Linked DNA regions of Homo sapiens: regions 1, 2, 3, 4 and 6 are each linked to region 5. Evidence: promoter capture Hi-C in 16 types of primary human blood cells and fetal thymus (Javierre and others, 2016). All regions are on one chromosome and are shown on one strand. Each heading gives the region's core, a stretch centred on a gene start or on the middle of the fragment in contact. The rest is flanking DNA. Distances are from core to core; before and after follow the strand shown.

The links. Contacts are between HindIII fragments. The CHiCAGO score rates a contact against its expected background, and 5 or more counts as called.
Region 1: a contact is called between a fragment that was not itself captured here and the fragment with the promoter of MED10 in region 5, in 2 of 17 cell types (naive CD8 T cells and activated CD4 T cells). The highest score is 6.4, in naive CD8 T cells.
Region 2: a contact is called between a fragment that was not itself captured here and the fragment with the promoter of MED10 in region 5, in 1 of 17 cell types (naive CD8 T cells). The highest score is 5.0, in naive CD8 T cells.
Region 3: a fragment that was not itself captured here is called in contact with the fragment with the promoter of MED10 in region 5 in 14 of 17 cell types (naive CD4 T cells, total CD8 T cells, naive CD8 T cells and 11 more); the score reaches 18.7 in naive CD4 T cells.
Region 4: a fragment that was not itself captured here is called in contact with the fragment with the promoter of MED10 in region 5 in 4 of 17 cell types (naive CD8 T cells, total CD8 T cells, activated CD4 T cells and 1 more); the score reaches 8.4 in naive CD8 T cells.
Region 6: a fragment that was not itself captured here is called in contact with the fragment with the promoter of MED10 in region 5 in 7 of 17 cell types (naive CD8 T cells, total CD4 T cells, activated CD4 T cells and 4 more); the score reaches 14.4 in naive CD8 T cells.

The regions. Positions count from the first base shown.
Region 1 is chr5:5,443,260-5,447,251 of GRCh38, forward strand. ICE1 (interactor of little elongation complex ELL subunit 1) reads left to right here. Exons shown (of 19, transcript NM_015325.3): 7 at 1,030-1,067. Among named protein-coding and RNA genes, the nearest start is that of ICE1, 23 kb to the left of the region's middle. The HindIII fragment of the contact is 9,536 bases long and covers 1-3,992 here.
Region 2 is chr5:5,541,711-5,545,827 of GRCh38, forward strand. No RefSeq gene overlaps it. Among named protein-coding and RNA genes, the nearest start is that of ICE1, 120 kb to the left of the region's middle. The HindIII fragment of the contact is 605 bases long and covers 2,340-2,944 here.
Region 3 is chr5:5,486,420-5,490,275 of GRCh38, forward strand. ICE1 (interactor of little elongation complex ELL subunit 1) reads left to right here. Exons shown (of 19, transcript NM_015325.3): 18 at 302-400; 19 at 2,730-3,801. The coding sequence ends at 2,911. Among named protein-coding and RNA genes, the nearest start is that of ICE1, 66 kb to the left of the region's middle. The HindIII fragment of the contact is 1,891 bases long and covers 927-2,817 here.
Region 4 is chr5:5,461,064-5,464,692 of GRCh38, forward strand. It overlaps ICE1 (interactor of little elongation complex ELL subunit 1), which reads left to right. Exons shown (of 19, transcript NM_015325.3): 13 at 1-3,629. Among named protein-coding and RNA genes, the nearest start is that of ICE1, 40 kb to the left of the region's middle. The HindIII fragment of the contact is 5,661 bases long and covers 1-3,629 here.
Region 5 is chr5:6,376,119-6,380,134 of GRCh38, forward strand. It overlaps MED10 (mediator complex subunit 10), which reads right to left and starts at 2,429. Exons shown (of 4, transcript NM_032286.3): 1 at 2,244-2,429; 2 at 1,048-1,131. The coding sequence starts at 2,365. RefSeq lists enhancers at 2,164-2,373, 2,664-2,883. The HindIII fragment of the contact is 6,030 bases long and covers 780-4,016 here.
Region 6 is chr5:5,504,378-5,508,030 of GRCh38, forward strand. No RefSeq gene overlaps it. Among named protein-coding and RNA genes, the nearest start is that of ICE1, 84 kb to the left of the region's middle. The HindIII fragment of the contact is 5,351 bases long and covers 1-3,653 here.

The DNA of each region.
Region 1 (3,992 bases), core at 445-2,944, 930 kb before region 5:
ATTACTATAGAAATACGGTTTTCAGTTTTGAAAATACGTAATTCTTAAGTCGGTAGTGTTTTTTTTTTTACAGTCTTTGGATTTCTTGGCCATAATTAGCTGCATGGTCTTGAACTAGTTAGTCTCTCAACCTTGGTTTCCACATCTGTAAACTGGAAGTTATATCTACTTTGAAGGGTCATAAGGAACATTAAATAAATTGTCATATGTTAAAGGGCTGCACAAAGAACTCCATAAAGGTGTTTGTCTCTGTATGTATATGCATTATATTTGCATGCACATGTGTCTGTGTGTGTCTAAAGGTGTTTGTCTGTGTATATAATGCATTATGTACTCATTCACTTGTGTCTGTGTGTCAGAACATAATGACTGACCCCTTGCTTTGTGCCAGTGCTTTAACCGATAGCATGTGGAATGGGTATCTTTGCTACTATTCATAAAAAGGGCTGTTCAGAAGCATCCCCTTGATCATTGAGGTTCATACTATAGTCATGTTATTCACAACAAATGTGAGCTATACATAAAACAGTTGAATGTAGATGTAATGAAGCAGTGACTCAGAGAGTTATCCACCTTTTCAGACTCTCAGAAATCCATCTTAAAGCAAGTGTAGCTCTTCAACCACTGCTTTCCATACGGTGGTGCTGTGACCACTGTTAACGCTATGCATGCTCCTGAAGAGTAACCTTAACTCATTAGACTCTGGACTGACTCTTAGAGACCATCTAGAAACTTCAGCTAGTCTCATGAATGATGCCACTGCAGTTCAGGAAGGGTCCCAGATGTACTCATGGCAGAAATTTGACAGGCCCATGGCATGTGTTTCAAGTGGAAAGAACAGAATTTTTTAATCCACTGTAAAGATATTTCATACTAAATAGTATATTATTCTCTCTTAGGATACTAGTTCAGACTGAACATTTGTTATACAAATATTTGTAATTTAAAAAATATGTGCCACAAATTATAAGGCATATTTTTTCCTATTCTCTCTTTCTTGCCATTTAACTTACACAATTTCGTTATTAGGAAGAAGAAACTAGAAGCTAAGGTGAAGAAGCTGCAAGGTAAGTGGCACTATTGTTACCTGAAGTTTTCGGTCAGTACAAAAATCACTGGTAACTGTATGAGGAGGTACTTCTTGATCAAATAGTTGAATTGTTATGGTTTTTGATGGTACATCCATGGATGACTGCATCAAGGGGTCTATTAGAAAGAAGTGTGAATACTACTCTCCTCTCAGTTACCAAATGGTAACATAGAGATGGAATGTGGCAAATCTCCGAAATGTTACTGCACTCAAAGTAATCGCAGCCCATACTTTTGCTATAAAAAGCAGTAATTAATGAAAGAATTTAATTTGGAAAGTTGAATCTCATAGGGCTTTTTCTTTTTTTCTTAATGAAATAAGTAGCTGGTGGAAAGGGTGGCTACTTTTAGTACCAAGAAACATGTATTTAGATAGTTATAACACACATACAGAGATTTCGATGAAATTTTGTACATTAGGGATTGTCCAGTTTGTACCTGATCCTCACCCGTGCCTCACCCTCTTGTTAGGGGTTCTAGCCTACAGTGAGTAGGTACGAGTGCAGAGGGACCATGCGAGAATCTAAGTCCTCACATTTCAGCTAATAACCTTTCAGGAACTGGTAGGAATTGAACTCAAGATCTTTTTATTTGCTTTTTCCTCCCTTCATTGTGTGGGTGGGACACAGACCTAATACCAAGTAGAGACAAAGGGGCTCTGCCAGATCCATCCTGCACACGATCTTCCTGTCATTCCAGCCTGGACTGCAGCGGGCATCTTACCTGCTATGGGTTTCTGACCCATTATCTTGCTAGTGCTCTACTTCAGAGATGGTTTATGTTCATTTAGAGCGTGAAGTTAGAGTTTGAATTTAGTTACATCCGGGCACATAGAATAATAGTTGCGGAAAGTATTTCTAGTCACTAATTTTTCTTGATTGAACCAAATTTTTTGGACTGGAACTCTAAATATTTCGGTAACAATTTTTCCTCTGGTTTGATTATTGCATGAATACTGACAATATGGCAGTAAGAATGATATTTTGTGTTCTAAGTATTGGTGTCTCTTGTAAGAATATGGAGATAAGTGTCTATTGTATTTAAACAAAATTTTTTTAATTTTTAAACTTTTTAAATTTTTTATTTATCATATTTTATTTTTTGAGACAGGGTCTCTCTCTGTCACTCAGGCTGGACAGGTGGTGCGATCTCGGCTCACTGCAACCCCTGCCTTCTGGATTTAAGAGTTTCTCCCACCTCAGCCTCCCGAGCATCTGGGACTACAGGCACGCACCACCAAACCTAGCTAATTTTTGGCTTTCACCATGTTGGCCAGACTGGTCTCGAACTCCTGACCTCAAGTGATCTGCCCGCCTCAGCTTCCTAAAGTGCTAGGATTACAGGTGTGAGCCACTGCACCCAGCCACATTTTTTATTTAAAAAAGAATTTTTTTTTTTTTTTGAGAGGAAGTCTCGCTCTGTCGCCTAGACTGGAGTGCAGTGGCGTGATCTCGGCTCTCTACAACCTCTGTCTCCCGGGTTCTGCTTCAGCCTCCTGAGTAGCTGGGCCTATGTGTCATGTGCCACCACACCTGGCTAACTTTTTTATATTTTTAGTAGAGATGGGGTTATGTTGGCCAGGCTGGTCTTGAACTCCTAACCTCAGGTGATCCGCCTGCCTCAGCCTCCCAAAGTGCTGGGATTACAGGCGTGAGTCACCGCGCCTGGCCCACTGCTTTTATTTTTTAGAGACAGGTCTCACTCTGTTGCCTAGGCTGGAGTGCAGTGGCAAAATCATAGCTCATGGTAACTCTGCCTTCAGGTGATCCTCCAGCCTCAGCCTCCAGAGTAGATGGGACTATAGGTGTGTGCTACCACACCTGCCTTTTAAATTTTTTGTAGAGATAGGGTTGCCCAGGCTGGTCTTGAACTCCTTGGCTTGAGTGATTCTCCTGCCTCAGTCTCCCAAAGTGCTGATACTACAGGTGTGAGCCACTGTGCCCAGCCAAGGAAATTATTTTTTTGAGACAGGGTCTCACTCCGTCACCTAGGCTGGAGTACAGTGGTGCAGTCATGGCTTACTGCAGCCTCAGCCTCCCAGACTCAGGTGATTATTCCACCTCCTGAGTAGCTGGGAACTACAGGTGTGCACCACGACACCCGACTAATTTCGACTAATTTTTGTAGAGACAGAGTTCCACTATGTTGCCCAGGCTGGTCTTGAACTCCTGGGCTCAAGAAACCTGCTCATCCTCCCAAAGTGCTGGGATCACAGTCGTGAGCCACTGCAAGGAAACATCTTTAAAGAAATCTGAAGTGCCAGTGAGACTATATATACAGGTTTTAGAACAGACTTTCTGTGAAGCAAAATGCCGCCTTTATTTTTCGTGTATAAAAAGTAGTTTTTCTAGTAAAAAAAATTTATCGGTGTGACTTAATAAAGATTACTGAGAAAAAAAATATCCAAACTTGTTAGAGGAGTCAGGAGAGGATTGTTACTGAGGTGTTTCATGGAGTTTTAGTTAGTAATTGTATATGAGCATAGTTATGTAAAGTCAGTACTGGTCAGATTCTTAATAGTATGTCTGGACCATTTGAGGCTTCAGAAACAAAAATGAAAATGAAGGATTACCTAAAATAGATCTCTAATAAAGGTCCTAGGGATTATGTTTAGCTAACTTGTTGAAGAGAATTCCAGGGAAGAATAACCATATCTATAATAAGCATTGAGAAAATCGCCTCTCCCCTCCCTAATAAAGAGGCTATATTCTGAGATAAAATCACATTTCTAAAATTTCTAGGACTTTAAGGTTGCCAGTGATTGAAATGGGACGGCAACTCCCTTTTATGCCTTGAATTCTTCCTTAACTAGGGGTTGGGATTGCTGTGCCTGGTTTGGAAAGAATTCTTAAGGCCTGCGCTAGTTCTGTGGTTTAAATGACAGTTAAAGAAAAAAGTACATT
Region 2 (4,117 bases), core at 1,392-3,891, 830 kb before region 5:
GGCCCAGAGGCTAAGTTCGAGGTTCTCAAGAAACTTATTTCCAACTTCAGCTACCAAATTTTAAAGTTCTTATGCTTTCAAGTTTGACATTTAAAAGTACACCATTTTTTCTTTTCAGGGTGAAATATAATACAGGTACACAAAATACACAAATCACTAGTTACAGCCAATCAAATGTTGGCACTTAAATATCCTTATTACCAATACTTAGACCAAGGTACAGAACATCGTCAGGACCCCAGAGTGTGGCTCAGGCCGCCCCCAGTCACTGTGACCCACCACGTGACTTTCACCATCTTAGATCAGCTTTGCTCATTTTGAATTTTGCAAAAGTGGAATCAGGTAGTATAATCCCCTCATTACTGGCTTTTTTCATTCAGCTCCACTTGTGAGATTCAGCCACGTTGTAGCACATAGCTATGGTCAGTTCATTTTCGTTGCTTCATGATAGTTGTGTTAGTTTTCTACCATTTATTTCGCATTCCACTGTGGATGAACATTATAATTATTTTCAGCTGTTGGCTATTTTGAATAATGCTGCCATAAATATTCTCATCCATGTCTCTTGGTGTATTTGTGCATGCATTTCCTTTGGGTATAGACCAAACAGTATAATTTTTGGGTTGTAAGGTAGGCATTCATTCAAAATCAGTAGATAATATCAAACAATTTTCAAAGCTGTTGTGCTATTGCTTGTTACCATCAGTCTTTCAATTTATCCATTTTGGATGGTGTGTCATGGTACTCTATTGTGGTCTTTATAAAATATTTCCCTAGATGCCTAAAAAATTAAACACATTTTTTGTGTTCATTAACCATTTATTTAGATGTGCTCTTTTGTGAAATACCTATTCAAGTTGTAGGGGAAGAATAATTCCCATAGGTCCTTAGTTGGAATGGACCCTGTAACAAAAGGCAGGTTAAGAAGAGAAAAACAAACAGAAGTGCATTTCATATGTACCTGGGAAGTACCCAGGGAATGAGCAGTTCTCAAAGATGTGGCTTTGAATTCCAGCTTATGTGGCATCTGCAACAAAGGACAGTAAATTTTTAGAGCAGTGACAAGACAAGGGGACAGTCCATTGGTCTCCAGAGACTACAACTTGAAGGGAGGCAGATAACTGTCAGATAAAGGCGAGCTGGTGAGGCTTGCTCATGCAGAGTCCTCTGGGACCATCGCCAGGCAGATAAGGACCTATGTTGTTGTCAGTGGGTAACTTTTTTCTTCCTGGTAGAAGGGGTGGGCAGGATTCCCTTTGTCTTTGTAAATCTATGTCTGGCTTTTAGGCAAATAGAGCACGGAGAACTTCTCTGTTTCTGCTGCTTCTTAATCGCCTTCAGCTCAACAATTCTTCATATATTAGGGTCCATATTCTGCTCTCCCTGCAAGTCTCTTGCCTGCTTTTCTCTATAGGGTTCTCTTTTTCTTGTTGATTACTAGGGTTTCTGCATGCTAGTCCTTTGGAGGTTGTCTGTGATGCAAAGATCTTTTGTTACTCCGAGGCTCGCCTTGTCACTCCCTTATTAATGTCTTTTTTGATGAACGCACTTTCTTAAATTTAACACAGCTCTGTTAGTCTTTTCATTTATGTCTTTTCCAAGGTCATGAAGATATTCTGTCATTCTCTAGAACTCTTTTTGCTTTATGTTTCACAGTTAGGTCTTTAATCCACCTGGAATTGATTTTATGTCCTGTGATTCATTTACTTCCCTATGGGTGTCAGCACCATTTACTGGAGAGACCATTATATCCTCATTGTGTTTCAGGGCCACCTTCGTGGTGCAGCAAATGACCATATGTAGTTGCTTATGCCAGTTTTCCAAAGAGGTTATTCCATTTTTATAAGATTGTTCGTCCTTATGTCAGTACCAAAGTGTCTTAATTATGGTCTAGTAAGTCTTGATATCTGGAAGAGATGTTCTTCTTCCTTGTTTTTCTCCTTAACATTGCCCCTTTTTATTGAATTGGTTAAGTATTTTTTTATAATAATTATTTCATTTCTTCTTCTTTTTTTTTTTTTTTGAGACAATCTCGCACTGTCACCCGGGCTGGAGTGCAATGGCACTCACTGCAACCTCCGCCTCCCGGGTTCAAACAATTCTCCTGCCTCAGCCTCCCCAGTAGCTGGGATTACAGGTGCCTACCACCACACCCGGCTATTTTTTTGTATTTTTAGTAGAGATGGGGTTTCACTATGTTGGCCAGGCTGGTCTCGAACTCCTGACCCCATGATCTGCCCTCCTCGGCCTCCCAAAGTGCTGGGATTATACGTGCGAGCCACTGCGCCCTGCCTAATTATTTAATTTCTTAGTCTTAGTTGGTTCAGGCTGCTGTAGCAAGCTTACCATTGACTGGGTGGCTTAAATAGCAAACATTTAATTCTCACAGTTCTGGGGCCTGGAGGTCTGAGATCAGGCTGCCAGCATGGTTGGGTTTGGGGTGAGGGTCTTATTCTAGGCTCACAGATGGCTACTTTCTTACAGTGCCCTCACATGGCACTGCCCTCACAGAGGGAGAGATTGGGCGGCTGGGGAAGAGAGAGACGTGCTCCTTATATAAGAACACTTATCACGAGGGCTCCACCCTCCTGATCTAATCACCTCTCAGAGGGCCCGCCTCCTAGTACCATCTCATTAGAGATCACTGAGGGTTCAGATTTCAACACAGACATTTTTTGGACACAGACATTCGGTTCATTACTCGGTCGTTATACACTCTTCTAAAACCAGTGATCCTGCTAAGAGAACATAACAGGTGTCCTTGACCTACCAAGTCAAATATACATAAGCAGGTTCACTCCTTTGCACTCAGTGCAGGAAATTCAGGCTGCCCTAACTCCATTTAGCTTCCTCCCACCTTATGTATTATTATGGCCATTTATTTTAATTCTGCATTATTGTCGTTTTAATCAACAATTCTGTTTAGATTTACTCACATATTTCAAGCTTCACCTCTCTTCCTTCTTCAGGTTTTAGCAGCAGATGAATACATTTCCTTGAGCATTTTCTTCAGTGTGGTTCCAATGCTGACACATTCTGTCAATTTTGTTTGTCCCAATGTGTCTTAATTTTACTTTTGTCTTTGAGATATATTTTTCTAGAACCTAACTAAATTTAAAATCTTGTTGTTTTTTTTTTTGAATTTGAAGATATCTTTTTATTCTCTTCTGGTTTTTATATCATTTCGAGTGAGACATTTGTTTTAAGTCTTATGGAGACCACTTCGAAAGTAATTTTCTTTTTTTCTCTGCTTGCTTTTTCTTTTGTTTTTAGGGATTTTTCCATCCTGTGTCTAGGTGTGGTGTTTTGCATTTATCTTGTTTGGGGTTTGTAGAACTTCTTGAATATGTGGCTTGAGGGCTTCCATCAATTTTGGAAAATTATTATTTTTTGCTTCTTTATTTTTCTCTTGTGTTTCTGGAAATTCAGTTATAAGTAATGTAGACCATCTTACCACATCTCTGCATCTCTTCTGTTCTTTCTGTAATTCTCATTACATTGTCTGGATAATTCTTTCTGACCTATCTCAGTTTAATAATTTCATCTTTAGCTTTTTATAATTTTCTCTTAAATCCATTAGCATGCTGTTATTGCAGTCCTAGAACATCCACTTGGATTTAGAAAAACAGTTTCTGGTTCTCTACAGGAATTCTCAGTGTAGCCTTTATTTCCTTAAATGTATTAACCCTTGCTATTTTGAAGTCTGTATCTGATAATGCCATTATCTGACTCACTTATGGGTGTACTATTTCTCTTTATTTTAAATAATTTTTTCTTATCTCCTTATGCATAATAATTTTAGACTGGGCATAGGCATTGTATTTGAAAACTTGTAGAGCTAATTTGAGTCTCTGGATGATGCCATCTTTCTACACAGAGGGTTTCAATTGGCTACCAGAGGGTAACTAGGCTAGGGAGTTCGAAGGCCAGGATTACTTTGACTCCTCAGGGATCGGCATGGCTCAAAGCTTGGATACTGATTTTGTCTGAGAGTCAGTGTGTTTCTGGTTGCTCTTAATTCTATAATATAACTCTTTGATGTCCCAGCCTAAATCATAGGTGCTTACCATAGCCACCGTCTGTACCTGAAGTGCCTTAAATTCCAGTTTCTGTCTCT
Region 3 (3,856 bases), core at 622-3,121, 890 kb before region 5:
CAAAGTGTCAGACCAAAAATACATATTTTGGTGGGACCATAGTCTTATCTTTGATCTGTTAACTTAACAGAAGTCAGGCGTTTCACATTGGCCCTACTGAAACCATTCTTTCTTCTAAATTCTATTTATTCCATTGTAACTTGGAAAGCAACACATTGTATATCATCTGGTATAGGTGATTGCAAGACGAAATGATGAGGCATTTTGATCACCTCTTGTAAGAGAAGTGGACCTTTAAATTCTTAGGAAAAGTTAATCAACATTTAACTGGACTGTTTACATTTTGGTTTGTTTCCCCTAGGTCGTTTAGGCCAATTGGGTTTGAAAGAAGGATTTCCATCTGCTGTGAAAAATATTAGTTCGGTTATTGGTATGTTTATACAGCATGCTCACGATGAAGGTAAAACTTACATCTATTAAAATTACTTTTAAGTAACTTGTGTTTCTCATAGTTAAACCTTTTTTGGGGTCCTTGCTGTGTGCTGTGCTCTGTGCTTTGCTTGCTGCCTCATAGATTAGGGAATATTTGCAAAACATTCCAGCATTAATATTGGAATGTGTGTGTGGATTTTGTGGTGGTATTTGATTACTTAAATAAAAGTCGTTTGCCTTGTTGGGCACTGCTTTCCTAAGGAAGAAGAAAGTCTCTTCTCTTCCTGCGGCTAACATTCTGCCTCTAAAACTCTGTACTGTGTGATCCCTGACAAGTGACTTAACCTGGGCTCTCTGCGAGGCCTCCTGGGTGGAGCTGTGTCTTGACGGAATGAAATCCGTGATGTACAGTGAGATGCCAGGTATCACAGAGTACTTAGCATCAAGGGGGGAGAGCTTGGAAACCTGGAGACCTTGTGAGCAAGGCTTCGTAGTGGGGATTTCTATTATCATTTACGTATTGCATAGCATGTAATTTTATCTCTTGTGGGAGAAGCTTAACTCAAAGTAACTCTTATAAGGGATGAATCTAGTTTTTATTTTGAATATTGTATAATCAAGGAATAATACAGTTAAGCAACATGCCATCAGAAATGCACAGAGTTACATTTTAAATACTGTATAACACCCAAGATGATCTTAACATGGTAGGTTGTCTTCAGCTTTCAGTGGGAGACTGTATATTTAGCTTAATGAGAACAGTGTTTCTCATTTAAGCTGCTTTATCTGAAATACCTTCTTTAACTTTAGGATAGCTGCTGAAGTGGTACACATTTCTTCCATATTACAGTGTACTTTTTTACAATTGAGGTTGTATATTGACATAAAAGAAAGTAGCCAGAATAATGGCTAATGAGTTGTTTTGCCAGCAGATGCAGTTTACTCTGATACTACAGTGGGTGTAACCTAGAAGCTGTGGTAATCCTCGTCCCCATGAGGGAGAAGGAGGAGCTGATGTTGGGGCCTGCTATAGATTAGACCTTGTGCATGGCACTGCCCCACAGCCTAACGGGATCCCCAAGACAGCCATCTGAGTGGATGGCATTGTCCTTCTTGTATACAGGAGGAAACCAAAGCTCAGAGAGAAGAGTGATTTGCTGAAGGTGAGGCTAGGAAGTGCCATCCCTGCTGTTTGCCCAGGTCTGTCCCTCTCCAGAGCTAGCTCTTTAAATAGTGCCACATGCTGTTATTTATTAAAATTATTTTTAACCTCTTGTGTTTCTCTTACTGTTACACTTTTTTATTTGTTTGAGTCATGGCCTTACTGTGTGCCCCGTGCTCTGTGCTTTCTCATTGCTTGTGGTTTATGGGGGGGAGTAATATTAAGAGCTGCAGTTGTGCCTGCTTGTCAGCATTCATGTTTGAATGTGTGGGCTTTTGTATTATTTGAAATAGTGCTAGTTTACCTTGTTGGAGAAAACTGAGGTACACATTGAGTATATTTTATTTGAAATGCTTGGGACCAGAAGTGTTTTAGACTTCAGATTTTCTTGGATTTTGGAGTGTTTCCTTTATATTTATGAGTTGAGAGCATCCCTAATCAGAAAATCAGAATGCTCCAGTGAGTATTTCCTTTGTGGGTCATGTTGATGCTCCAGAAGTTTCAGCTTCGGAGCATTTTGGATTTCAGATTTTTGGAGTAGGAATACAGTGCAACCTCCAACTTTAACTCCTAAATTGTTTAACCTAAATTATCTAAGTAAATGAAATTTTCATAACTCTGAAATAAACTTACCTTAAAAGAGAACTGTGATAATACACTGTAATGTATAACTTAGCTGTAATCCAGAATCATACACTGTAGTTTTTGAAAGTATGGTACGCTACAAAAAGTTTTTCATTATATCTCTTATTATGTTTTCTCATTTCCAAAGTCCATTTATAAATGCTTCCCGTGGATATCTCATAGAGTCATATGTTTAATGAAGGTTTTAGGATCACGTTTTATTAAAACTTAAATATGGGAGTGTGATCCTTCCAGAACTGTTTTGGGAAGCTCAGTCGTGGCCGTGGGTGACTGGGATCTTGGAGGCCCTCTCCTTTTTAAAAACACACAAACAGTCCTCAGAACACTGCTGGGGCCAGGAAACTACAGACAGCTACTGTCTGGCTTTTCTTCTTTTTTATTTGTGGACAGGTCTTAAATGAATTTTTTTACTGTGGGTTTTTTTATATTTAATTTTCATTGCTGGCAGAAAGCATTCTGTATTTGAATAGTATTCCAGTAGGTTACATCACTAAAATTTTGAATAACAGATATTTTCTTGTTTTATGACTGATCTGAAATTTCTTTTCAGATATACCATGGGGTATACAGTTAGCAGCCGTGTATGCTCTTTGTGACTTGAGTCCCAGCAATCCAGCAGAAATTTCCAAGATCCTGGAAGCTTGGCGGAGAGAGGCCTCCAAAAGCGTTCCGTCTGCGATTGTCAGCTGCCTAGAGGAAGTCAGTGCCCTGAGCACAGAGGAGCTTGGCTGACCTGGGATGCCACTGAGGCTTGAGAAGTGCCTTGACACATTTTGAACACAAATAGTTTGATCAGCTTTCAGAATACAAAGGGAGGTTTCAAAACAAAAAGACATAAAATAGATAAAACAGACCAGAGGCTCTCCTTATTGTTTGGCAAGGAGACAGGAGAAACAAGCAGTCGCATAGTCGTTTTTCCCTAAATCTAATACGTTTCACTTAAGGCTGTTGTGATCTGTGACATATGGGTTATATTATTGTGTCTTTGTCAAACAACAAAAACTTGAACTTAGCCCTTTTTTTGCTGCAGAAAGTGTCCTTTTAGTGGCTTCTTAAAATTGAGTGGCATTTTATAATGAACTTACCAATATAAAAACATGATTTGGTTCCTGAGCTGTTGTTGTTGGACTTGTGTTCCAATGAGTGACTAGGAAAAAATAAATTGGCAAAAACCTAGAGTTTTCTGCTATCTTTGCTGGAAATGAGTTGCAAAAGTTTTTCTCAAGATGTAGTGCGTAATTGATCAGAGCAAAACATGCAGAGCCCTTAGCAGAAACCCACTTTAATGCATTTTCTTCATATCCCTAAAGTTCCTTAAAAATATGTGACAATGCATCAGGAAGAGGAGAACTGAAGAGTAGAAGTTCCCTTGCAGATTTTTTTATCAGTGACATGTAATGAGCAATTCACAGATGAGCGCAGGCAGAGCTCTGTGTGCCGTGTACATATGGACCGTGCTATGATGTGTCTCACATTGGATGATATTCCACTTTGGGAATTTTAGTATTTGTATATAGAAAATGGGTTTAATAACTCACCATGGTTTTGATTTGTCTTATATTCGTTATTTCTTAAAACTCTTGTATGTGTTTTTATAATAAAAAATAAAAGTAAGCCATGGATATTACTGTTCTGATTATTAGAGTGAAACTGGGTGTTACTTCTGCTCTACCAAGG
Region 4 (3,629 bases), core at 394-2,893, 920 kb before region 5:
ACCGTATCACAGTTTCTGGCCATTTTCACAGACTATCTAGAGAATTGGAAAAGGAAAAAGAAGATACTCAAGGGTTCACTTTAGGAGAATCACCTGAATCAGAAGATGATGACTCAGGTGATGGAATGGATGTAGCAGGGCTTGACATTGAAACCAGTTTTTCTTCCTCTTCTACCTTGGTAGCATTGTCTGTTGGCAGTAATCCCCAGTCTTCTTCTGGGTTAGACTGTGGTAATGATACAGATATTACTACTAAAGTATTCTCTACTGAACCGCATCATTCAGAACATAAATTGCAAACTAAAACTTTAAACACATTACATCTGCAGTCTGAGCCACCGGAGTGTTCTATAGGAGGAAACAACTTGGAGAATAGCTTGTGTGCCTTGAGCCCTGAATTGGGAGCATCTAATTTTAATGATCAGAAGAGCAGTGGGATAGAATATACAAAAGTAGTAAAAGGCTTGACCAAAATACATTCACTTCCTCGGTCAGTATTTATGAAAGCTACAAAAGATGGGCAATGTGAAAGTCAAGATCCAAGAATTGAGCTCACACTAAATAAGCCAGATTTCACATCATTAATAGGTTCTCAGGCTGCCTTGATCAAGAGTGGTTTGGGTTTTGTTAAAAGTACTTCATGGCACCATAGTGATTTATTAAGGAAAGGTGGCGAAGAAAGTCTGAGAGCCAAATCAGAACATGAACAGAAGACTAGCCATCAGTTACAAAAGGCAATGCCATTCCTACAAAATAGAGGACCAACACCCAAGCCTGATCTTCTTAGAGAAAATAACAATCCTGTAGAATTCAAGACCACTGCATCGGTGTTGCCTAATCAAGTATCAGTTATCACAAAACAGACAAGACCTGAAAAGGTTCAGAGTGCCAAATTGGAACACTTGAGGCCACATAGGGTTGAGCCTACCTTAGTAACAGAAAATAGTGGCAACAAAACCGGTATGTCAACTGTAGCAAAATGTGATGGGGAAAGAGATGATACAACACAAAACATCACGGAGGTGGCTGCTGTGAAAAGCATTTCACCAGAAGTTTCTGCCTCTAGGAGAAAATTAGATTTTAATTCTCCAGGTGGTTCTTCACCAGTAGAAAATTCTGATTGTTCCACAAATAGCAGATTATCTTTCTCTCCTGAAAATATCCTCATCCAAAACCAAGACATTGTGAGAGAAGCTGCAGTGCAGGGAGATGGGCAGAAGCAAAGGCAGCCTCAGGCCACAGATCTGGACTCCAGTGGGACACATGGCAGTGAGATGCTTCCAGCCACAGAAGTGACTGTGTCAGGAGGGTTTTCTGTTGAAGAAACCAGCTGTGGAGACACAGGGAGATCTGGTGGTGAGGCCCTGGCTGTTGCAAATGATTCTACCAGCACACCACAAAATGCTAATGGACTTTGGAAATTGAAATCTACAACTCCCGGTGGTGCTTTGCCTGAGTGTTTTGGCACCACAGACACTACTTTTTCTTCAGCATTTTGCAGAAAACATGGAGAGACACAGGATACCTCCCAAAGTAGCCTGCCTGGTACCTTACATTGTTACACAGGCATTCGAGAGGGGGGAGACGACACTGAGGTAGAGAGTGAGGCATTTAGCTGCAGTGAGGGGAGCGAACAGCAAGATGCTCCTGATGACTCACAGAAAAATTTAGGAGACACAGATGCTGCTGTAGCCGAGGTGAGACCTTCCTTAGAGGTAGGTTATTTGACGTCAGCTCTGCAAGATTTTAACATAAGTACTTTTTCTGAGCTGGATAGACTTTCCACATCAGAGGTTGTGATGTTTCTTGAGAGCTGTCAGTTAGGGGATTATAGTTCAGGGGACTCTGTTTCTGAATGTTCTAGTAAAGGAACCCTAAGTAAAGAAATGAACAAAGAATTAAAGGCAAGTGAAATAGGAGAAAAATACAGAAAGCAACCCTGTGAGGAAGAAACACTTGGAACCTGTGAAGAGTGGATTGAATCAGAGGAAGATGATTATTCGTTAAAAAATACAAGTCAGCTCACTCAGTGTTCTTTGGAAACTCTGTCTGAGGTTCTGACCAAGATTAGGCAAGAACTTCAAACAAATTCTGAAGATTGCAATGGTAAAGATACTGGCAGTTTATTGCTCTTAAATGTAAATAACAACATGACCACTGAGAATTTAAAAGAGAAAAGTCCATTTCGGGAAACGACTGGCTCCTCATCACATGCTTCAGAACCAACCCCACAAGCAGCTGCCTTGGACACTGAGGGCAGCTCTCCCATCAGCGGTATGCCTCAGAATGAAAACCCTCAGAGCAGACCAGAGGCCCGTTCAGATGCAGGCAGGCAAACCGATGGTGGGGAAGAAGACCTGCCAGAACCTGTGGAGCCATCAGCCTTGTGCTCTGACTCTGTGATGGAGCCATCCATAGAGCAAAGTTCTAACTGCGAGGCCGAAACAACATTTCAGTGTCAGATAGCAACAGTGACCTCAGAAGTTATAAACGTACTTATAAATAAGGATCAGAATCTAGTCATTGAAAAGGGGGACAACTGGACAATCATCAGTGGTGTAGCTGTCTTGCCACATGTGGACCAGGTCACACTGTGTGACATTCCTGGAGACATCCCTATTTCTCAGGATCAAGGAGAGCTGGAAGCTGGTTGCATCCCAGTGACTTCTGCTGAGAAGTCCCCAGAGGCCAGTCACACTGGCCCTGCATTTCAGGAGGCTCCATGTGGCAATAATCTTTCATGTCCCCAAGAGGATGTTTCAAGCAGTGGTCAGAGCACCAACTTTGATAAGAGTCGTTTGCGAAATAGACCCGTTAAGCCTAGTATATGGATTAGTTCTCAAATCTATGATCAAAACTTCGAGACTCAGATTGTTGCGTCTGATCACACATATTATAACTCAAAACTAGAGCCATCTGGCAAAAATAAGAATCGATCAAAGATTTCAAACAAAGATCAGTCAAACAAACCAGTAAAAACTTCAGCGTCGAGCAGAGTTGAAACTCATCAGAGTGAAGTTGCTCAGTCATTTTCAGGGGAAAAAGCTAATACAAAAACTCAAAGAAGCCAAACTCAGACCATTTTAGCAAATGCTGATACATCCACTCCTACAGATTGTTCTCCTGACACACTGAGTAAAATACGGCAAGAGGTGGGGCCTCCTTTGCCGCCTCTGCTTGCTCCTCTGATAGCTACACCTCCAAGGACTTCACAGCCACTGTCTCCACTGATATCGAGTTCTAGTCCTTCCTCACCAGCCTCTCCTGTTGGCCAGGTTTCTCCCTTCCGTGAAACCCCAGTGCCTCCTGCCATGTCTCCATGGCCAGAGGACCCCAGACGTGCCTCTCCTCCAGATCCTTCTCCATCTCCATCTGCAGCTTCAGCCAGTGAGAGGGTAGTGCCGTCTCCTCTGCAGTTCTGTGCGGCCACGCCGAAGCACGCACTTCCTGTGCCTGGCCGACTCCCACCCTGTGCATCTGGCCACGCTGCTGTGGGAGGGCCTCAGGAGAATTCTGTGAAAATCCTTGACACCATGTATCCAGAGTTATCTGCCAGGGCCCGGACCCTCAACATCCTCAAAGGGAATATTCAACTCACACGAGGTCCGCCTGCTGACTGTAAGAATTTA
Region 5 (4,016 bases), core at 1,179-3,678:
TGGTGCCCACTGAGCACAGGTAAGGAACATGGGGCAAAGTCATCAGCAGGTGAACAGAAGATCAGAGACCAAGAAAACCACCTCTGTGTCCTGTCTTTGTAGGCAGCTGCTGCACTATAGCTAGAACTTGTATCTCTGACCTTTTGGGATGGAAAACAGCCATAACTCTTTCCCTTTACTGCTTAACGAAATCTAGTGATTTACATTTGCAGTTTTGCTGCAAGAAATACTAGAATGTTCTTGCTGTTCCAAGCCAGCACCATCAGGGAGAGGCTGCTTTGCACTGGTCAAGAAAGTATGAGTCCGGGGGTTTCGTCTTAACTCTGACACTTACTAGGTAAACAACCTATTGCAGTTACTTATCAGGTCCTTCATGTGTGAAATCAGAGATGTGACCAAATCAATGCAAGAAAACCTGGATTTTAAAAATCTAAAAGCTCATTCCTGTATGTGTTCTCAGGACTATTACTAACATAGGTGCACACAACTCTCGCACAGAAAACAGTGAGCAGCCTCCCCAAACATACTTGGAATAAGAACCCTTTCTTTCCTCCTTCGACAGAGCAGATATTTTCACCTCTCAGAACTAGCACTCCACGGGCAGTTTGGGAACATCAGACCAGCTTGCTTTTCAGGTGCTTCTGGCTGCCATTTTTTAAAAATTTACAATATAGCCCTCATAGGACTTTTCACCTCTTAAGGAAAAAAGAAAGTTTTGTGGCTGTTCTTTAGCCTAAGCAGGGCTTTGAGGACCTATGATGTATTTCATATATTTAATAAGCTTTTATTTACATGTAACTTTTTTTCCACAATAGAATATTAAGGATATTCTTTTTTTTCGTTTTGTAATGCCATTAGAACGGAAGTTCCATAAGGGCAGGTATTTTTGTATTTTTGTCTATTTTTTTTTCCACTGGCACATCCCCAGCACCCAGGCTGTGCCTACCACACAGCAGGCACTCGAATGCCAGTGATGAAGAAGTCACGATACCACACCATAACTGAACAAGATTTATACCCAAGACTAATATCAAGAATGTTACTTACTCAAAAACTTCTAACGGTACAGTAATATCATGAAGCTGCTGTCTGCACTTGTCAATATCCTGTAAGCCAGTAACAATAAAATTCCTGGGGGAAAGGCAAACACACAGGCATCTGGTTAATTTCGCTTGACAGCATAAGCACCACCCACAGAGCTACCCAGCCAACCGGGGCTCCACGCAAGTTCGTTCTCCTCACAGCTATGCGGGTTACACACGGTTCTGACCTCTTTGGTTAGCTACAGGATTCCTAGGACACCGTTAGAGTTACAAAATACCCTTAAATATTTGTTACTTTCCTTCTCAACTAGAAATTGCCAGTAAGGGGGATGGAGAGGGAACCTGATGAAAAATATGAACCTTCTCTCAAAAACAATTACCTGACTGTGCATATGACTGTGTGTGCGGTTTCAGCGAACACATGAGGCAGCGGACTATACTCAAAGTCTGAGGGAAAGAAAGCCATACTGTCTGGTTTAGCTTCCTCTCCTCTCTGGAGCCTTCCTACAGCATCAGGCTGGTCTGGCTATTCCCACAGCACTAGGTATGGAACCTCGAGTGCAACATTTTCTATGTCCGTGCCACATATAAAGCCCTTCTCGAAAGTGCTGTACTTGCATTTGCCTTTTCTCCAACCCAGGGCCTAGCAACATGGGCAGCACAAGGCTGTTGCCAAGAAATAATAATAATAAACGTTCTGCAACCTTTCTCAGCACCACCTCCCCGCTATTTCCTCCACTGTCAGGCCTATGCGGCAGGTGGCTTCGGAGCCTCACCTTCTGAGGCCTAGTTTAGGGCGTGCACTCACTGTGGAGCCTGCCTCCCCTCTGGAGACAGGGACTGAATTCCCAGAAGGGCTCCAGGAGGAAAAGGCTGGGAGGGGGTTACACATGAGAGGGGAGACGCTAGAAGAGAAAGCATGATTCCCTTGATAGGGAAACGTAAAGTATATCATCTGGCCATGACGACGTCTCCAAAGGGGCCTCAAAGAGGTTGGCTCTTGGCAACAGGCTGGAGCGCGGGCCCCGCCCTCTGAACACAGCCAGGAAAGGCGCCCCGGGCTCCGGGACCAGACCAGAGGGCTGGCGGGGCACGAGTAGCGGTCAGGCTCGGCTCGGGCTCCCTAGATCCCCGCTCCCCTAGCACACGCTTCCCGGCCAGGCCCTGGGGAGACCCCGGCAGCCTCGGGCCGCCACTCACAGCTTTTGGTTGAGCCCGGCCTGGCTGCTGGGCTGGAAGTCACTGACGATGATGCCGAGCTGCCGAATGTTCTCCACGAACTTCTCCAGGTGCTCCTCTAGGTGGTCAAACTTCTCCGCCATCGCCTCGGCCCGTCCCCGACCCACACAGCCTCAACCAGCAGCGCCGCAGGCGTGGCCCTACGCTCCCGCTTCCTGCTTCCGTCCGGACAGATACGACTTCCGTTTCCTCTGGGGGAGCGCGGGCGAGCTCTTGGGGGCGGAGCCTCGTTATCGGGACGGGCGTGTTGGGGCGGGGCCTAAGTGCGGGGCAGGGCGGGCTTTCGGGGATGCGGTCTGGATTCTGGAGGAGGCCTCGGCGCGCAGCTGGGCGAGTACTAACTGTTTGCACTCTCATCAGACCTGCCTCGGTCATGGGAGAAGTTGAAGACTTTCTGCAATGCAGCATCTTCAAGCAATACACACATGGATGAAAATCCTAAAGTTTGCATGAAGGACCAATAACGGTAGTTTCCCTGCCCCTCTACCAGAACCCCTGGGATCAGCGCCTGCCTGCCTCCTTTCTTCTATGTAATCGGCGGCCACCTCCCCTAGCTCTTGCTGCTAACCATGCTTCCCGGACACCTGCTGCCTTCGTAGGTCAGGGTCTCACCTCCTCGGGCCAATTCTGACCAAACAGCACCCTGTGGGGTTGCCCTGTCTTAGTAAACTGCTGTTTATCTCATTGAAATTCAGTTTAGGTCATTTCACTCTTATGTTTAAGAAACTTTTCTGCCCGATCTCCTATGATAGCGGATATCTCCTCTAGCCTGTTTGAATTTCTCAAGTGATTTATTTTACTGAATATATTTGTGGCCTGTACTTTTCAGTGCCTAGAAACAGGCAAAGTGAGGGAGCTCCTTTGCTAGATGATCTTCAGAGCCTCTCCCAGCTGTGACCAGAAATGGAAAGCCAGAGAAGGTAAGTGACTTGCCAAACTTATGGAATCAGGGCACTCCAGTTGGTGGGCTGGGCTGATAAACAGAAATGTTACATAAAATACTTCTCTCCTGATTTAACAACAATTAACTTTAGGGAATTATAAAACAAGATGGAGGCTGGGCGTGGTGGCTCAGGCCTGTAATCCCAGAACTTTGGAAGGCCAAGGCAGGTGGATTACCTGAGGTGAGGAGTTCGAGACCGACCTGACCAATATGGAGAAACCCTGTCTCTACTAAAAATACAAAAATTAGTCAGACATGGTGGTGTGCGCCTGTAGTCCCAGCTACTTGGGAGGCTGAGACAGGAGAATTGCTTGAACCCAGGAGGCAGAGGTTGCAGTAAGCCGAGATCATGCCACTGCACTCCAGCCTGGGCAACAGAGCAAGACTCAAAAAAAAAAAAAAAAGGTGGAAATAAAATATTAGACAAATAAAAAATTTTAAGTTATTAGGTAGAGGTAGCGACATGGAGTGAACGGCCTTTCTCAATTTCATAAGTAAGAAAGATAGATAATTGATGGAACTTAGGCTTTGGTAAGTATTTATTTTAAAAATTTAAGGGTATCTCTTTGCTAGTATATATAATTCCCAAACTAGTAGACAGGGGGAAGGGAATAAAGAAAACACAATCAACTCAATAGAAGGCAAGAAAAGAAGAGAATAAAGAAGCAAAGAACAAGCATGGAAAATAAAACTCACAACGTAAAGTGCAAAAATTAAAGGCACACGACTCAACAGCAAAAAAGCAAAAGAAGAAATTTATAAATGGGCAAAGGACCTGAACAGATACTTCT
Region 6 (3,653 bases), core at 1,031-3,530, 870 kb before region 5:
CTTCAGGACAAGTTATTAGAAAGTATCCAAGCTGAAATACAAATTAAAAATTGACAAATAAAAAATAAACATAAAAAGACCAAAAAAAAAAAAACCCACAAAATCCAGAATAGGTTATGATGCCTTTCTTTGTGAGACAATATCAAATGACCCAACATACATATAATTGGGACCCAAGAAGAAGAGAAAATGAAGAAGAATAAATATTTAATATGATATTTGCTGAGAATAGTCTAAAATTGATAAAAGACATAAACTCACAAATCTAAAACAATGAGAAAACACCAATCAGGAGAAATACAAAGTACCTAAGCACATCATAGCTAATTGGTGACCACCAAAACTAAAGAGCAGATTTTTAAAATGAGCCAGATAAAAGATGCGCATTATGTACAGGAGAACAAAGATAAGTGCAGTCACTGACTTCTCACCAGACTTAATAGAAACAACAGACAGATATCCTCAAAGAGCTGAAAGGATACATGAGAGCATGCATGCACACACATATGTACAAATAACTACCAACCTAGAATTCCACATCTTGCAGAAATAGCCTTCAAAAATGAAGATAAGCCGATTTCAAAATATCAAATACTGTGTAATTTCATTTTTGAAATGAGAAAATTATAGAAAGAGAAGACAGATTCATGGTTACCGGGGTCATGGATGGATGTAGGGAAGAGACAGTTAAGTGTTTCTAAAAAAGGGCAACATGAGAGATCCTGTAGGTGATGGAACTGTTCTACATCTTGACTGTATCAATGTCTATACCTGATTATGATATTGTACTATAATTTTGTAAGTTGTCATCATTGGAGGAGACTCAGTAAAAAATATGTGGGATCTCTCTGCATTTCTTACAATTGTATCTGAATCTACTATTATCTCAAAAAGGAGATTAATTTTAAAATGAAGGGAAAATAAATACATTTTCAAGAGATAAAAGCTAAGAGAATTTCTCTCCATCAGACCTTCTCTTTAAGAAATACCACAATTGGCTGTGTGCAGTGGCTCATGCCTGTAAATCTCAGCACTTTGGGAGGCTGAAGCAGGTAGATCACTTGAGGTCAGGAGTTCAAGATCAGCCTGGCTAACATGGTGAAACCGTGTCTCCACAAAAAAATACAAAAATTAGCTGGGCCTGGTGGTGTGTAGCTGTAGTCCCAGCTACTCGGGAGGCTGCAGCATGAGAATCACTTGAACCCAGGAGGCAGAGGTTGCAGTGAGTCACAATCATGCCACTGCATTCCAGCCTGAGCGACAGAGGGAGACCCTGTCTCAAAAGGAAAAAAAAAAAAAAAAAAGAAATACTACGATAATTGTCTCAGGCTGAAGAAAAATTATAACAGATTTAACCCTGAACCTGTAAGAAGCAATGAAAAGCACCAAAAAAGGGTACATATTTGTATAATTATAAAAAACCTTATAAATTTGTGTATGAGGGAGAAAAAGAGAGTATGTTTATTCTTTAAACTGTGCATATATATCCATGAATGGTAAATTTCATAATTTAAAAAAAGGAAAGAGAGAAAAATATCAAGGGAGGCAATACCATCTGGAGAATGTCTGTCACATGTGCTGTGCTACACACAGGGGGGATGAAAATAAACTTCTATTTTGACAGCAAGGAAACCGACAGTGATAAATAAATGTGGTTAGTAAGTCAAAGTAGTCCCAAGTAGAGGAAGTGGAAAAGCAAGAGGAGGCGGTGAATTACATGAGTTTCTCTAACCCTCTCAGGTGTACTAAAGCCAGTTTTCAAATCCCGTGTTAACAGCCAAATGGAAGCAAGTCTATATTGCTACTCTATTACAGTTGCTCCTGAACAATATGGGTTTGAACCCTGCAGACTTTCTTTTGCTTCTGCCACCCCTAAGACAATCAGAACAATTTATCTTCTCCCTCCTCCTCCTCAGCATACTCAAGAAAATACAACCAGGATGAAGACCTTTGGGAAGATCTGCTTCCACTTAATGAAAAGTAAATACATTTTCTCTTCCTTATGATTTTCTTAATAACATTTTCTGTTTTCTAGATTACTTTATTGTAACAATACAGTATATAATACACACAATATAGAAAACCCGTATTAATTAACTCTGTTATTGGTAAGGCTTTCAGTCAACAGGCTATTAGTAGCTAAATTTGGGGGGAGTCAAAAAATTTTGGACTGTGTAGAGGGTTGGTGCCCTTAACCCCACATTGTTCAATGTTCAAGAGTCAACTGTAATCAATATTTTGTAATTATATTTTAAAATGTGCCTTATGTGAGATCCACTATAAAAAGAACTTGATCACTAATATACTGCATACAAAGTCAATTTGAGATGAATTATGGACCCAAATGTAAAAGCTAAAACAATCATAAAACTTCTAGAAGAAAACACAGAAGATTACGTCTGTGATCTTGGGGCAAGCAAAGATTTTTTAGGAGACAAAAAACATGCTGATAAAATTAAAAAACGATTAATTATACTTCATCAAGATAAAACAATCCGGCCAGGCACAGCGGCTCATGCCTGTAATCTTAGCACTTTGGGAGGCCGGGGTGGGTGGATTGCTTGAGCTCAACAAATACGAAAATTAGCCAGGCATGTGGATCGCTCCTGTACTCTCAGCTGCTTGGGGGATTGAGCTGGGAGGATCTCTTGAGCCCAGAAAGCAGAGGTTGCAGTAAGCCAAGATCATACCACTGCACTCCAGCATGGGTGACAGAATGAGACCCTGTCTCAAAAAAAATAAAATCTTCATCACAAAACATTATCAACAAAATAAACAGTTAAGTCACAGACTGTGAGAATGTATTCATAAGAAAGAGGATTTGTATCCAAATTACATGAAGAACTTCTAAAACTCAATGATAATAAGACAAAGAACACAATTTAAAGGAGAAAAAAAGCAAAGAGGCTGTTCACAAAAGAAGACATAAAAATGGCAAATAAGCACATGAAAACCTGCTCAACTTCATCAACCATCAAGAAAATACAAACTAGACACCCCAGGAGCTCCTACCGCATGCTGCCCTAGAAGACCTGCAATGCCCAAGGCTGACTGCAGCAGGTGCTGGGAGGAATGCGGAGCCCTGGGATGCTTATCTGCTGCTGGCAGGGGTGGAAAATGGTACAGCCACTTTGGCAAACTGTCTGTCTTCTCCTAAAATAATATACTTCCATCCTATGACCCAGTGATGTCATTCCCAGGTATTTGTCAAAAATAAATGCAATATATTCATAAAAGTTCCTTTACAAAAAAGACTTTTATAATAGTCAAACCTGGATTGTTTAATCAACACGTGGGTAAATTATGCTTTGCTCATGCACTTGGATAGCAGTCAGCACACAATATGCATGAGTCTCAAGAGTAACAGGCTAAGAGGAGTACAGCAAACACAGAAGTGTACATCCCAGGTGATTTAATCCATACAAACTTGAAGAAATAAGCACAAGAGACTGAGGGTGACAGAAATCTGATCAGTGCAGGTTTTGCAGTGGAGGACTCACGGGAAGGAGAATTAGGTGCCTTTCTGGGACGGGGAAGATGCTCTGTGTCTTGACAGGCACCGTAAGGTATACTTGAGATCTGAGCACTTCCGTGTATAAATTGCACTAAAATTAAAGTTTCCCTTGGGTGCATCTGCATAATTATGTCACCCC